Linked DNA regions of Homo sapiens: regions 1 and 3 are each linked to region 2. The links are contacts of gene promoters, found by promoter capture Hi-C in blood cells and fetal thymus (Javierre and others, 2016). All regions are on one chromosome and are shown on one strand. Each heading gives the region's core, a stretch centred on a gene start or on the middle of the fragment in contact. The rest is flanking DNA. Distances are from core to core; before and after follow the strand shown. Region 1 holds the start of STK4 (serine/threonine kinase 4). Region 2 holds the start of PCIF1 (phosphorylated CTD interacting factor 1). Region 3 holds the start of PIGT (phosphatidylinositol glycan anchor biosynthesis class T).

Evidence for each region. Contacts are between HindIII fragments. The CHiCAGO score rates a contact against its expected background, and 5 or more counts as called.
Region 1: the fragment with the promoter of STK4 here is called in contact with the fragment with the promoter of PCIF1 in region 2 in 3 of 17 cell types (non-activated CD4 T cells, fetal thymus and neutrophils); the score reaches 8.0 in non-activated CD4 T cells.
Region 3: the fragment with the promoter of PIGT here is called in contact with the fragment with the promoter of PCIF1 in region 2 in 7 of 17 cell types (naive CD8 T cells, fetal thymus, erythroblasts and 4 more); the score reaches 7.1 in naive CD8 T cells.

The regions. Positions count from the first base shown.
Region 1 is chr20:44,964,687-44,968,297 of GRCh38, reverse strand. STK4 (serine/threonine kinase 4) reads right to left here and starts at 1,786. Exons shown (of 11, transcript NM_006282.5): 1 at 1,695-1,786. The coding sequence starts at 1,729. It overlaps STK4-DT (STK4 divergent transcript), which reads left to right and starts at 1,840. Exons shown (of 3, transcript NR_038341.1): 1 at 1,840-2,181; 2 at 2,613-2,736; 3 at 2,850-3,611. RefSeq lists silencers at 1-31, 1,712-1,961 and an enhancer at 492-571. The HindIII fragment of the contact is 5,160 bases long and covers 1,223-3,611 here.
Region 2 is chr20:45,932,264-45,935,932 of GRCh38, reverse strand. PCIF1 (phosphorylated CTD interacting factor 1) reads right to left here and starts at 1,250. Exons shown (of 17, transcript NM_022104.4): 1 at 1,129-1,250. It overlaps LOC107985388 (pre-mRNA-splicing factor cwc22-like), which reads left to right and starts at 862. Exons shown (of 1, transcript NR_171669.1): 1 at 862-2,439. RefSeq lists a silencer at 720-929 and enhancers at 558-1,248, 1,249-1,940, 2,200-2,349, 2,632-3,324. The HindIII fragment of the contact is 3,152 bases long and covers 1-2,130 here.
Region 3 is chr20:45,414,172-45,417,690 of GRCh38, reverse strand. It overlaps PIGT (phosphatidylinositol glycan anchor biosynthesis class T), which reads right to left and starts at 1,550. Exons shown (of 12, transcript NM_015937.6): 1 at 1,348-1,550; 2 at 997-1,174. The coding sequence starts at 1,534. LOC107985405 (a long non-coding RNA gene) reads left to right here. Exons shown (of 2, transcript XR_001754640.2): 2 at 874-3,519. The HindIII fragment of the contact is 8,427 bases long and covers 1-3,519 here.

The DNA of each region.
Region 1 (3,611 bases), core at 537-3,036, 970 kb after region 2:
GGCGTGGTGGCACGCACCTGTGGTCCCAGTTACACAGGAGGCTGAGGCAGGAGAATCGCTTGAACCCAGAAGGCGGAAGTAGCAGTGAGCCGAGATTGCGCCACTGCACTTCAGACTGGGCGACAGAGTGAGACTCCGTCTCAAAAAAAAAAAAAGAACATGGACTTTGGACCAGACCCCATAGACATTAAAATCCTAGCTCTGTCTCTTACTTGCTATGACTTCTCCCAGCAAATCACTACCCTCTGTATCTCAGTTTTATCATCTGTAAAACAGACATATAGGGATATCTACCACACAGGATTGTTGTGAGGTTCAAATGAGTTCAAATGAGGTTTTTATGGTTCAAAAATGGTCAAATATCAGCAATTTCATATGCTTCAGCAGGACACATGGAAAGCACTTAGAACAGTGCCTGGCACCCGGTAAGTGCAATATGAGTGTAATAATCATTACTATTACAGTCTCAGCACACTACGCTAGGGTGAATCCAAAGCCCATCCCAACCACCTATTTGCCTTCTGCAATGTTTGTGCACCTCAAACATCCCCAAGCTCAAACAACCCCTAAGAGTGCTGCCCAGGCAGTCAATCCCTTCTCTTCACCTCTTGGTTGCCCTGCACTTCCACACCCTGAACACTTCCTTCTTTAGAGCTCATTCTGCTGCAGGAAGTCAGACGTCTCTGTGAAATAGAAGTAACCACACTGAACCTCAGAGAAGCATGACTCCTTCGGTCTCTAGTCCCTACTTTTCTCCAGATGTGGTAGAGTGGCAAAAGACCCGGGATGTCCACAAGGGAAATCCAGGAGTTGAGATTTTCTAGGATCAGCCACCATCCTGATCTTGAACTAAAGCAATTCCAGGTACCACTAGGATTTGGTGCTGATATTCACAAAACAACTGAGGCCTGAAAAGGGCACAGACTGGCAGGGTTCAGTGACCCGGAGTAAAGAAGGAAACACTTCCCAACTACTCTGGACCTCAGTCTCCCCATCTCGAAAATATCCTCTTATTTCCTTACCTACCTCCCAATGTCAGGTTCTGAAGAGCTGAGGAGGATGTGAAGACCATTAGGAAGACACTGAACATCAGTAATAAAAGATGCCATCCTACAGTGGGGACACCACCAACAGCATCCTCTGAAATGCTACCCTCCACCATCCCCTCCCTTGCTAGACCCTCAACCTTTCCTCGCATGCTTTCAGCCTTAGGCGCAAAGCTTTTCCCCTCCACAGATCCCCCCACCGCACCCCTCAAGTGGGACTTCAGACCCTTAGAAAGTCCACCCGGCCTTCCTCTTGGCCAGTTCTCGATCCACCCCCTTAAAGAGATCCCTCACAGATTCTCACCCTGCTTCAGCATTCGCCCCCACCTCCGTGAGTCCCTGCTTGGATAGCGTTCCCCCGAGTGGCCCGGCCTCAGCAGGTACTCTCCCTAACTTGTCCCCACGTTCCTCAGCACAGTCTCACCACAGCGAGTGCTCCCTCTAACCGGTCCCAAGTCTAACCTCCTTAGCAGATGCTCCCCTCAGCCGGACCCTCACCCACCAGACGTCCCCCCCCTCACTCAGCAGGTGCCCCATCGGCTGGGTCGCTTAGCTCCGGGGACTCCCACACAGGTGTATCCCCTCAACCAGTTCCCGCCTTTTCTTCCCCTGACCCCATGCCCGTCCTCTTAGCCAGTGGCCCCTCACCGGCGCGGCGGGTTCCTCAGCTGTACCGTCTCCATGGCGCTGCCAGCAGCCGCCCAGACCCGCTCACTGCTCCATCCTCCCGCGGACCTCCTGAGCCCGCCCCGCAGACCCTCCCACACTTCCGCTTTCCGCCCCTACCGGAAGCGGCGCGCGGCGCGGGAGCGGGGCGGAGCCACGGCCCTGATCACGTGGTTCGGGCGTGAGTCTTGTGGCGCGGTGGGGCGCGGACCCGGAACCGCCAAGTGGTGAAGGCGCCTCCAGGCGGTGCCCGCTGGTCTCTAGAGTGTCAGTGGCGCTGTCTTCCTGCGTTACCGGAGCGCACAAAATACTCGGTCCCCAGGCCGAGAACGCACCTCTACCTGGGTCCTGGGTCCCATTTCACAGACTGAGATGCGTGAAGCGCCTCCTTTAGAAGAGCTGACAATTCTTAGCAAACCAAGTTTTGCGTGATTTTGGGGAGGCGGCGCTGCCCCAGGAACGCCTGGAGGTATTTGTGGTTTTCTGCCGCTTACCTGGTTGAACTCTGGTCCCAACGGGCCCCCTGCACATTTTCTCCTACAATGCATCAACGCGCAAATTGCCCCACTGTCTTTCTTAAAGGCCTCCCCTTTAAGTCAGTTTGCAGACATAAAAATAAGCAACATTAATTAAGCATTTGCCGTGTACTTGTCTTCATATATTATCTCATTTAATCCCCTGTGTCAAGCCGATAAGGTCATCCCCGTTTTTATTTATTTAATGATTTAACACAGTCCCTAAACGTTTTCAGTGCTTTACCTCATTTAATACTCCTAACAACCTAGACGGTATTATTATTATTCCTACTTCATAAGGCCAGAGAGGTGAAGTATCTAGCCCAAGGTCACATAGCTTAGAGTATAGGTTTGGGGATTTAAATCCAGTTTGGTCTGATTTCAGGGCCTGCACCACCAAACTGGACAGCCATGGGTGTGTAACCTCTTTTTGGGCCTGAGAAACAGACCTTTCTCTCCACTCAGAGCTCCGGCTTCAGCTATTGTGCTTCCGAATGCCACTACCATCAGTAAGTATTAGGAAAATGGCAGATTCTACCCAATTGACCCATGGGGAAAGTTATAGGAGAAAACTTAACCAGAGCAACCTCTCACTGTTTTTAATTGCCTTGCTTTTCCCAAGGATATGCCATCTACAGAACTTAACACCTGAGCACCCACCCTTCAGGGCCACCCATGGGCCCAAAACGGGATAAAGGAGCCATTCCCTGACATAGGAGGAAAACATTTGCTGAGAAGCTACTGTGTGCCAGACACAATCTTGGACTTTCACTTAATCCTCAAAACAGCCCTAGGAAGAAGTACCTACCGTTAACAGATAAGAAAGCTGAGACCCACGGTTTACACAGCTAAGGAGAGCAAAGGTTTTAACCCAGGACTGTCCTGACTCCACAACATCAAAGTTGTTGTTTTGTTTTTGGTGTTTTGTAGAAACAGGATCTCCCTATTATTACCCAGGCTGGTCTCAAACTCCTGGGCTGCAGCAGTCCTCCCACCTCGGCCTCCCAGAGTGCTGGGATTACAGGCAAGAGCCACCACACCTGGCTGATGAATAGGAATTGGGTAAACATTTTTGAAAATTAAATACCAAATTACCATTACACAATGCCAAACAGACCTCCTTTGTCCCCTTCCCAGGATTTTTCCAGAAGATGGACTCACATTATGATGGCCCCCTTTTTCCGCAGAGTGTTCCCAATGAAAATTTCTGAAATGATGGGAATGTTCTAAATATGTGCTGTCCGAAATAGTAACCATTAGCCACATATGGCTATTGAGCACTTTAAATGTGGCTAGCATAACTGAAAGGCCACATTTTTATTTAAATTTAAATTTAAATAGCAAACCGTGGCTAATCATAATAATAGCTTAAGAGAGAAATGGT
Region 2 (3,669 bases), core at 1-2,500:
ATACGCACAAGCGGCACAGCTTAGTGTGAGGCTAAATGGGGACACTGCAGTATTTCCAAAGCCAGCTGTGCATCAGAATCATCTTGGAGTTTGTAAAAAAAAAAAAAAAATCAGACTCCTGTGCCTCACTGCGCATCTCAGAAGCCAGAAATAAATACGGAGGTGAGGCACACAAGAATTTGTATTTTTAAAACGCACCGTAAGAGTGACTGGGAGACAGGATGACTCATTTTTTCACACTATTTGAAAAAATGTACCCATTTTTTGCAATTAAAACCATTTTTAATTTCCTATGTGACTTGAGCGCAGCAGGTCTGTGGCCGAAGTACCAGCCCCTGGGTTGGACAGACCCGGATTCCGGGCCCTTCTGCTTTCCGGCTTATAAACCGGAATCACTCGACCGTTATATGTAGAGTCCAGCATTGTACGCTCCCAGTAAGACATAACTGCTCTTAAGTTAACGTCTTTATTTATCCTGTGGCTTCCCGACCCCCACGCATACCGCAGTTTGAGAATTACCGCTGCTCAAGGATAAACAACTCTATCTGCGCAACCAGAAAAACCCACCAGAAGCCAGAGTCCGAGTCCGGGATTGGAGGCACGTGGGGCGGGACCATCTCCGCAATGTACCAATCAGAATTCTCCGGCCCAGTAGGGAGGAGTCAAAGGGCGAACAAAGTACGCAGGCGCGACGGCGCACGAAGGCGAGAGGCGAGCTCCAGCGCGCGCGCGCGCGCGCACCTTCCCCTCCCCCTACCCCAGCGAGGGTGGGCTGTTTGGCGCGCGCGCGCGCGCCGGCCCATCTCTCGGGCTCCGCCCCCCGCCCCGCCGCGCGCTCCCGCCCCCGGGCTGAGGCGACTCAGAGTCGGAGCCCGACACAAAGGCGGTGGCGGCGGCAGCAGCGGAGGGGCCCTAGAGCCCGCTCCGCTGGGGCTCTCCGGGCCCACCTCCCTCACTTCGGCCACCGGCGCGGCCGCCCACCCGCGGGTCTAAGATGGCGGCGGCAACAGAGACAGGGCAAGCGGCAGTCCCGAGCAGAAAGCGCCGGAGGGGCCGCCGCCCCCCAGCTTCGGATCCCCAGACCCTGGCGCGGCTCGCTGCGGGACCATGGCTTCCTGGGACTCTTACCTGCCCGGAGCGGACTGGAGGGGACGCGGCTACACGTTCTGCTCGACCGCCCGTTTTGCCGCCTCCGCCTCGCCCTCCCCAGCGCCGCTGCCGCCATCTTGTGTCCCGGGCCGGGACTCCGCGCTGCGCATGCGCTGGTACCGCCTCTGAGGGACCTCGCCGCGGCCGCGCCGCCATCTTGAGTGTGGCAGGGTCGGCTGGCTCCTCGCACCCAGCTTGCTTTCGGCCCCCTCCCCTTCTTCCCATCCGTCCCTGCTGTTCCTTGTGGCGCTGAGGAAGGGGAGACAGCTTTGTAGGCCTGCGGGTGGACTGAGGAAGGAATGAATTCACTGGCACGTCCCCGCCTCAGTTTCCCCCTCGAGCACACACGCAGGAGCCGGATGTTCGCGGTGGGCGGTGCGCGGCGGGGTTGGACTGAGCGTGCGCACTGGGGGGCGTGGGGGCTGTCTTAGAACCTGCGGGGGTCTCGGGTTCTGCCGCCGGCCCAGGGGAGGCATCGTGGTGACGTAGGCTCCGGACGTAGCAAGGACCTGGGTCCTGGCACCCGCGCGGCTCTGCCTCTTCCAGCCAGTCTCTTTCCCTCTCTGGGCCTTTGTGCTGCGTGGTGTCCAAATGTTAAGAAGCCCTGCCCCATGCCCGGGCTACATATACATCGAACCCAAGCTGTAAATGCTCTTGAGTAGAAGCAACTTAAACTAGCCTTCGGGGGCAAGTAATAGAGATGGCTTTCGGCAGAGTTGGGAAATCAACTAAATGCATTGTAGGGCCTTTCCAACATTGACATCTGTGGCCATTAGTTGCAGTTCAAAGCCTCACTGAGCCCTCAAACCAGCTACAGCGGGTAGCCTGGCAGGGAACTGGCAGCTGTGAGGTGCTCCTCATCCGGCTCCCTGCAGGATTCTTTTTGGTAGGAGCCTGCAGGCGTCCGAGTGGTAGCTCCACCCATCTCCGGTCTCCCCAGCAAGCATCCCTTCCAGTGCTAGCTTGAGAAGAGGAAAAGCTTGCCACCTGCTGTCAGACCGGCGCTTGTGTGGAGCCAGGGGCTGTAGGTACCCCGGCTGAGTAGCCTCTCAGATGTCCATGGTCCTGGCTGCACGCCAGCGTGGGGGCAGGCAGGCGGACGCTCAAGAAAAACGGAGGCACCGATATGAGTAGTAATTGAGAACGAGGGTTCATGATCCTCATCTGATTTCAATCCCTGCTCCTCCACCCAAAATGTGTGGCCTTGAAGGAGTTAACCAATTTAAATTTTAGTTTCCTCAGTGGAAGATAATAAATCCGCCTACCTCATAAAGGTTTGGTGAGAATTAACTCAGGTGATGCATGTGAAGTCCTCAGCGCAATACCTGGCGCTTCCTAAGTGCTGAATCGGTTAGCCGTGATCATCTCACAGTGGCATGAGCATTGCTCCAAGTAGATTTGAGCCCTCCAGAAATAAGCCAGCTCTATATAGGCACAGCAGTTCTGCCCTCGCAGAGCTTCTCGTTCAGATAAGAGGCCTGATGGGAAACCAGACTCCTGGGTCCTGTCTCAGTTCTGGAAGGGTGGGGGGCCAGCTTTGATTTATGCCTGCTGCCCTGGCATAATTACTAATATTGCCTCCTTTTTCAGAAGTGCCCTGCTTTGGGCCGGGCGTGGTGGCTCACCCCGGTAATCCCAGCACTTTGGGAGGCCGACGCAGGTGGACCACCTGAGGTCAGGAATTCAAGACCAGCCTGGCCAACACGGCGAAACCCCGTCTCTACTAAAATTACAAACATGAGCCAGGCCTGGTGGCGCGCGCCTGTAATCCCAGCTACTCGGGAGGCTGAGGCAGGAGAATCACATGATCCCGGGAGGCAGAGGTTGCAGTGAGTCGAGATCGCGCCACTGCACTCCAGCCTGGGCGACAGAGTGAGACTCCTGTCTCAAAAAAAAGTACTGCTTTGGGCAGTAAACTACGTGGTCGCTCTTGACCTACGGGATAACCAGTTTTCCATGCTCATGCCCCCCAGCTAGCCCGCGCTTTCACTAAAGTTTAAAAACCATGTAGTGATTATTACCCTTTTTTTTTTTTGAGACGAAATCTCGCACTGTCGCCCGGGCTGGATTGCAGTGGCGCGATCTCGGCTCACTACAACCTCTGCCTCCCGGGTTCAAGCAATTCTCCTGCCTCAGCCTCCCAAGTAGCTGGGATTATAGGCACCCGCCACCACTCCCACCTAATTTTATTTGTATTTTTAGTAGAGACGGTGTTTCACGATGTTGGCCAGGCTGGTCTCAAACTCCTGACCTCATGATCCGCCCGCCTCGGCCCCCCAAAGTGCTGGGATTACAGGCGTGAGCCACCGCGCCCGGCCTTTTATCTATTCTTTTATGTTTTCAAAGTATTTTCTCATTCATTGTTCAGATTCTCTTAATTGATAACCAAGATACCAAACATCCCAAGTGCCTAGTCTTCTGTTTTATCATGGAATTCTGTGAATTATTACCTAAATCTGCACATGAGCAAACAGGTTGGAGCGAGGGGCAGGGGCGAAGTCATTGTCCAGGTTCACACAG
Region 3 (3,519 bases), core at 301-2,800, 520 kb after region 2:
TGATATTTGAATTTGCCAATTTTCACATTAAATTCCAGATTTCTGGTATCTCTTGAAAAATGAGGCCAGGTGTGGTGGCTCTTGCCTGTAATCCCAACACTTTGGGAGGCTGAGGCAGGAGGATCGCTTGAACCCAGGAGTTCGAGACCAGCCTGGGCAATATAGTGAGACCTTGTTTCTACAAAAAATTTTTAGAAACATTTGACTCTGACCACATTAGGCCTCTATTCCCACATGGCAACAATCCATAGAAGCTGAGTGGCAGAGCTGTCCTCGTTAGAATGTCACACAAACTCTCTAGCCTGCCACAATTCCTGCTGCTCCTTTTTATTGCCCTAAAACTTGTTATATCATACTTGCACTATTGATTTCTTATAGTGGGATTAAGAGGAAAATGAGATATATTTCTCATTCCTGTGTTTGTCAATTTTAAAAATACCTTTATTCATTCCTTACCTGTGTGGCCCATGTAGACCTGTTTGCAACCACTGCACAGAAAGGTTCTATTCTAAACAGGATAGCCACAGCAGCCACTGGGAAATAGCGGTTTGTAGTAGGCACAGTAACTAGACCTGCCCCCTCCCAAACAAAAGCAGTTCCTCTAACACTGTGATGTAGCATCCTGTTGGCCAGTTGTAACCCACAGATATGTTATGGTTGGCTTTCGTGGTATTTATTATCATTTAAAAAATATTAATGAATGCCTTTTAAAAGGTTATCCAGTTGCCAGTTTTCTACTGCCTTACCTCCAAATAAGCATTAATTGTTTGCTATTTGCCTCTCCAGGGATATGCATGTGCTACCTCAGGTCTGAAAGTTTTAGGATTGGGAAGTTTATTCATCTGTGGTAACATTTCTTACTTCCAATGCCAGCTCTACCCCCATGGAATCGCTGCCTACTGGAAGTGCTGTCCCCAAGAGCAGTGGCAGGATGACAACACTCTCCCAGCCACATTCCCTCCATGGCCTGCAACAGGGCCCAAGGTGTGCACTCACTCAGTGACAGTGTCTTGGAACCAGACCCACAGCTCTGCACCTGATGGGGCCTGCAGGAAGGGTGGCCCCCAGTATCGGGTCCTCCAAAAGCCTTGTGTGAATGACAGGTGCAGCTCCCGTAGAGAATACTTGGAGATCAGCTGCCCCAGGGCTTTGGGAAAGAGCCTGTAATGGGACACTGGGGAAACGGGAGCAGGTGAGTGACGATCCCCACCTCGTCGGGGTCCACACCCAGGATCCCGAACTCTACCCAGGAATTAGGCCCCGCCCCCAAAGTTTGCCTTCATCCCACGGCCGGCCAGCCAGCAGGCACTACGGAAATCTTTCCCTGGTCAGATCTCGCGCCCTCACCTCCTTCCCGCTGAAGCTCCGAATCCCAGCGCGTGCGGAACTGGAATGTGGCGGCTACGTCCCCGGAAGGCAGCGGGGTGATGACAAGTTCCTCCCGCAGGCTGTCGCGTGGGGGTTCTGCAAGGCACCAGCCGCCGGGCCCCAGGAGCAACAGGACGAGCAGAGCAAGCGGCATAGCCGCCGCCATGCCTGCGGCTACTTCCGCCTACCCAGCGGCGCTCGGCCCCATGAAAAGCCGGTATCCAATAAGAAAGGCGTGTGAGAAGTGACTTCCGCTGTCGTCCCGGAAACCGGGATGCGGTTATCAGAGCGACCGCCTGCGCAGGTCGCGAAGATTCCCTCAGAGCTGGTGGGTCTAAGGGGGTACTGGGAGGACACGAGAGGGAGTAGGCAGGGCGAGTAACCAGCTTGAGGCCGCACCTAGTTCATGGCGTATTCCACCCACCAGGAAATGCTTAATAATATGAAGCTCCTTCACTGCCATTTTACCCATTTGATAGTTGAGGAAACATTGACTGAAAAAGATCAATTACTTTTGGGAAAACCATTGTGGTTTTAATTTGCATTTCCCAAAGTAAGAGGAACCTCCTGCCCCTCTTAGCTTCTAGTGTCTCCATTTGCTGCAAAACCCCCAAATAAGTGGTTCTTTTATTACGAAAATGTTCAAACAAAATTGAAAGAATGAGCACCTGTTACAATAAACCTATTTTCCACCACCTAGATTCTACTATTTACATTATACTATACTTGTACTTTACCACATATTTGTCTATACATCCATCATTCCATCTTGTGTTTTGGTGCACTTCAAAGTAAATTGCAGACATTAGTACACTTTCCTTTAAGTAGTTAAGCATGCATATAATTAACTAGAGTTCAGTATTCGATTGCATTTTGATGTAAAATTCACATACAGTGAAATGCACAAATCCAAAGTACACATTCACTGAGTTTTGACAAATGCACACACCTATGTAACCCGAACTCCTATCATGATACAGAACATTCCTAAAACCCCAGAAAATTAGCAATACCCTTTCCTAGTCAATCCCTGCTCCTCTATCACCTTCCAGAGGCAGTTAGTACCCTGATTTTTTCCCACAATAGATTAATCTGTTCCAGAACTAAATATAAATGAAATCATATAGTATGTATACTGTGTAAGGCTTTTTTTTTTCTCATGGGAAGAATGTTTTTGAGAATCATCCATGTTCTTGCATGTATCCACAATTCTTTTTATTACTGCGTAGTATTATTAATTTATCCATTCAACTCTTGATGGGCACTTTTAAAGTTTTTGGTTATTATTAACAAGGCTGCTGTCTGTGCAAGCTCCTTTGTAGACGTATATTTCTCATATCCTTTGGCCAGGTATTTAAGAGTGGAATTGCTGGGTCAGAGAGCAGGTGTATGTTTAATTTTATAAGAAACTGTCAGACCTTTCTCCAAAATGTATCATTTTATGTTTCCATAAACTATGAGTCTCCATTGTACCACATCCTGGTCAGCATTTGAAGTTTCTAATTTTTTGTACTTTTTAGTTTTGACCACTTGGGTATGTATGTAGTGTTTGCTCATTGTGGTTTTAATTTGCATTTCCCTGGTAACTAAAAATGTTAAGCATCTGTTCATGTGCTTATTTGCCATTTATTTTTTAATTTAATTTTTATTTTTTTGTGAAAGGTCTGTTAAAGTCTTCTGCACCCTCACCCCTTTGTTTACTGGCTTGTCTTTTTATTGACTTTTTCGGAGTTCCAAAGTTAAAGTCATGCTTTAGTTTTTCCACCTGCCCTATGGGAAACACATTCATGAAGGATTTCATGAACAGTCTCTTGGTGACACTCATGACCACACTTCTAGAAAGAGCCAATTTGGTGTCAGGCAGGTCTGCCAAGATATGCGCCAACCAACCAGACATTTCCAGAAAGGAAATGTCAGAAAGATGTCTTTATCTCATTATGCCTTCATTCTGCCTGCATTCAGTGTTCCTGCCCCATTAGACACGAAATATTAGGAAGGCCATGGGCTTAGATGTCAGAAAGACAGGAGTCCAAATCCCTATGCCAGCCTTTAATCCATATGAGCATGATCAACCCAAGTGTCACTTTTCTTCATTTGTATAATGAAGAAACCTACTTTCAAGGTTGTTGTTAAGATGAGAAATTATGTACA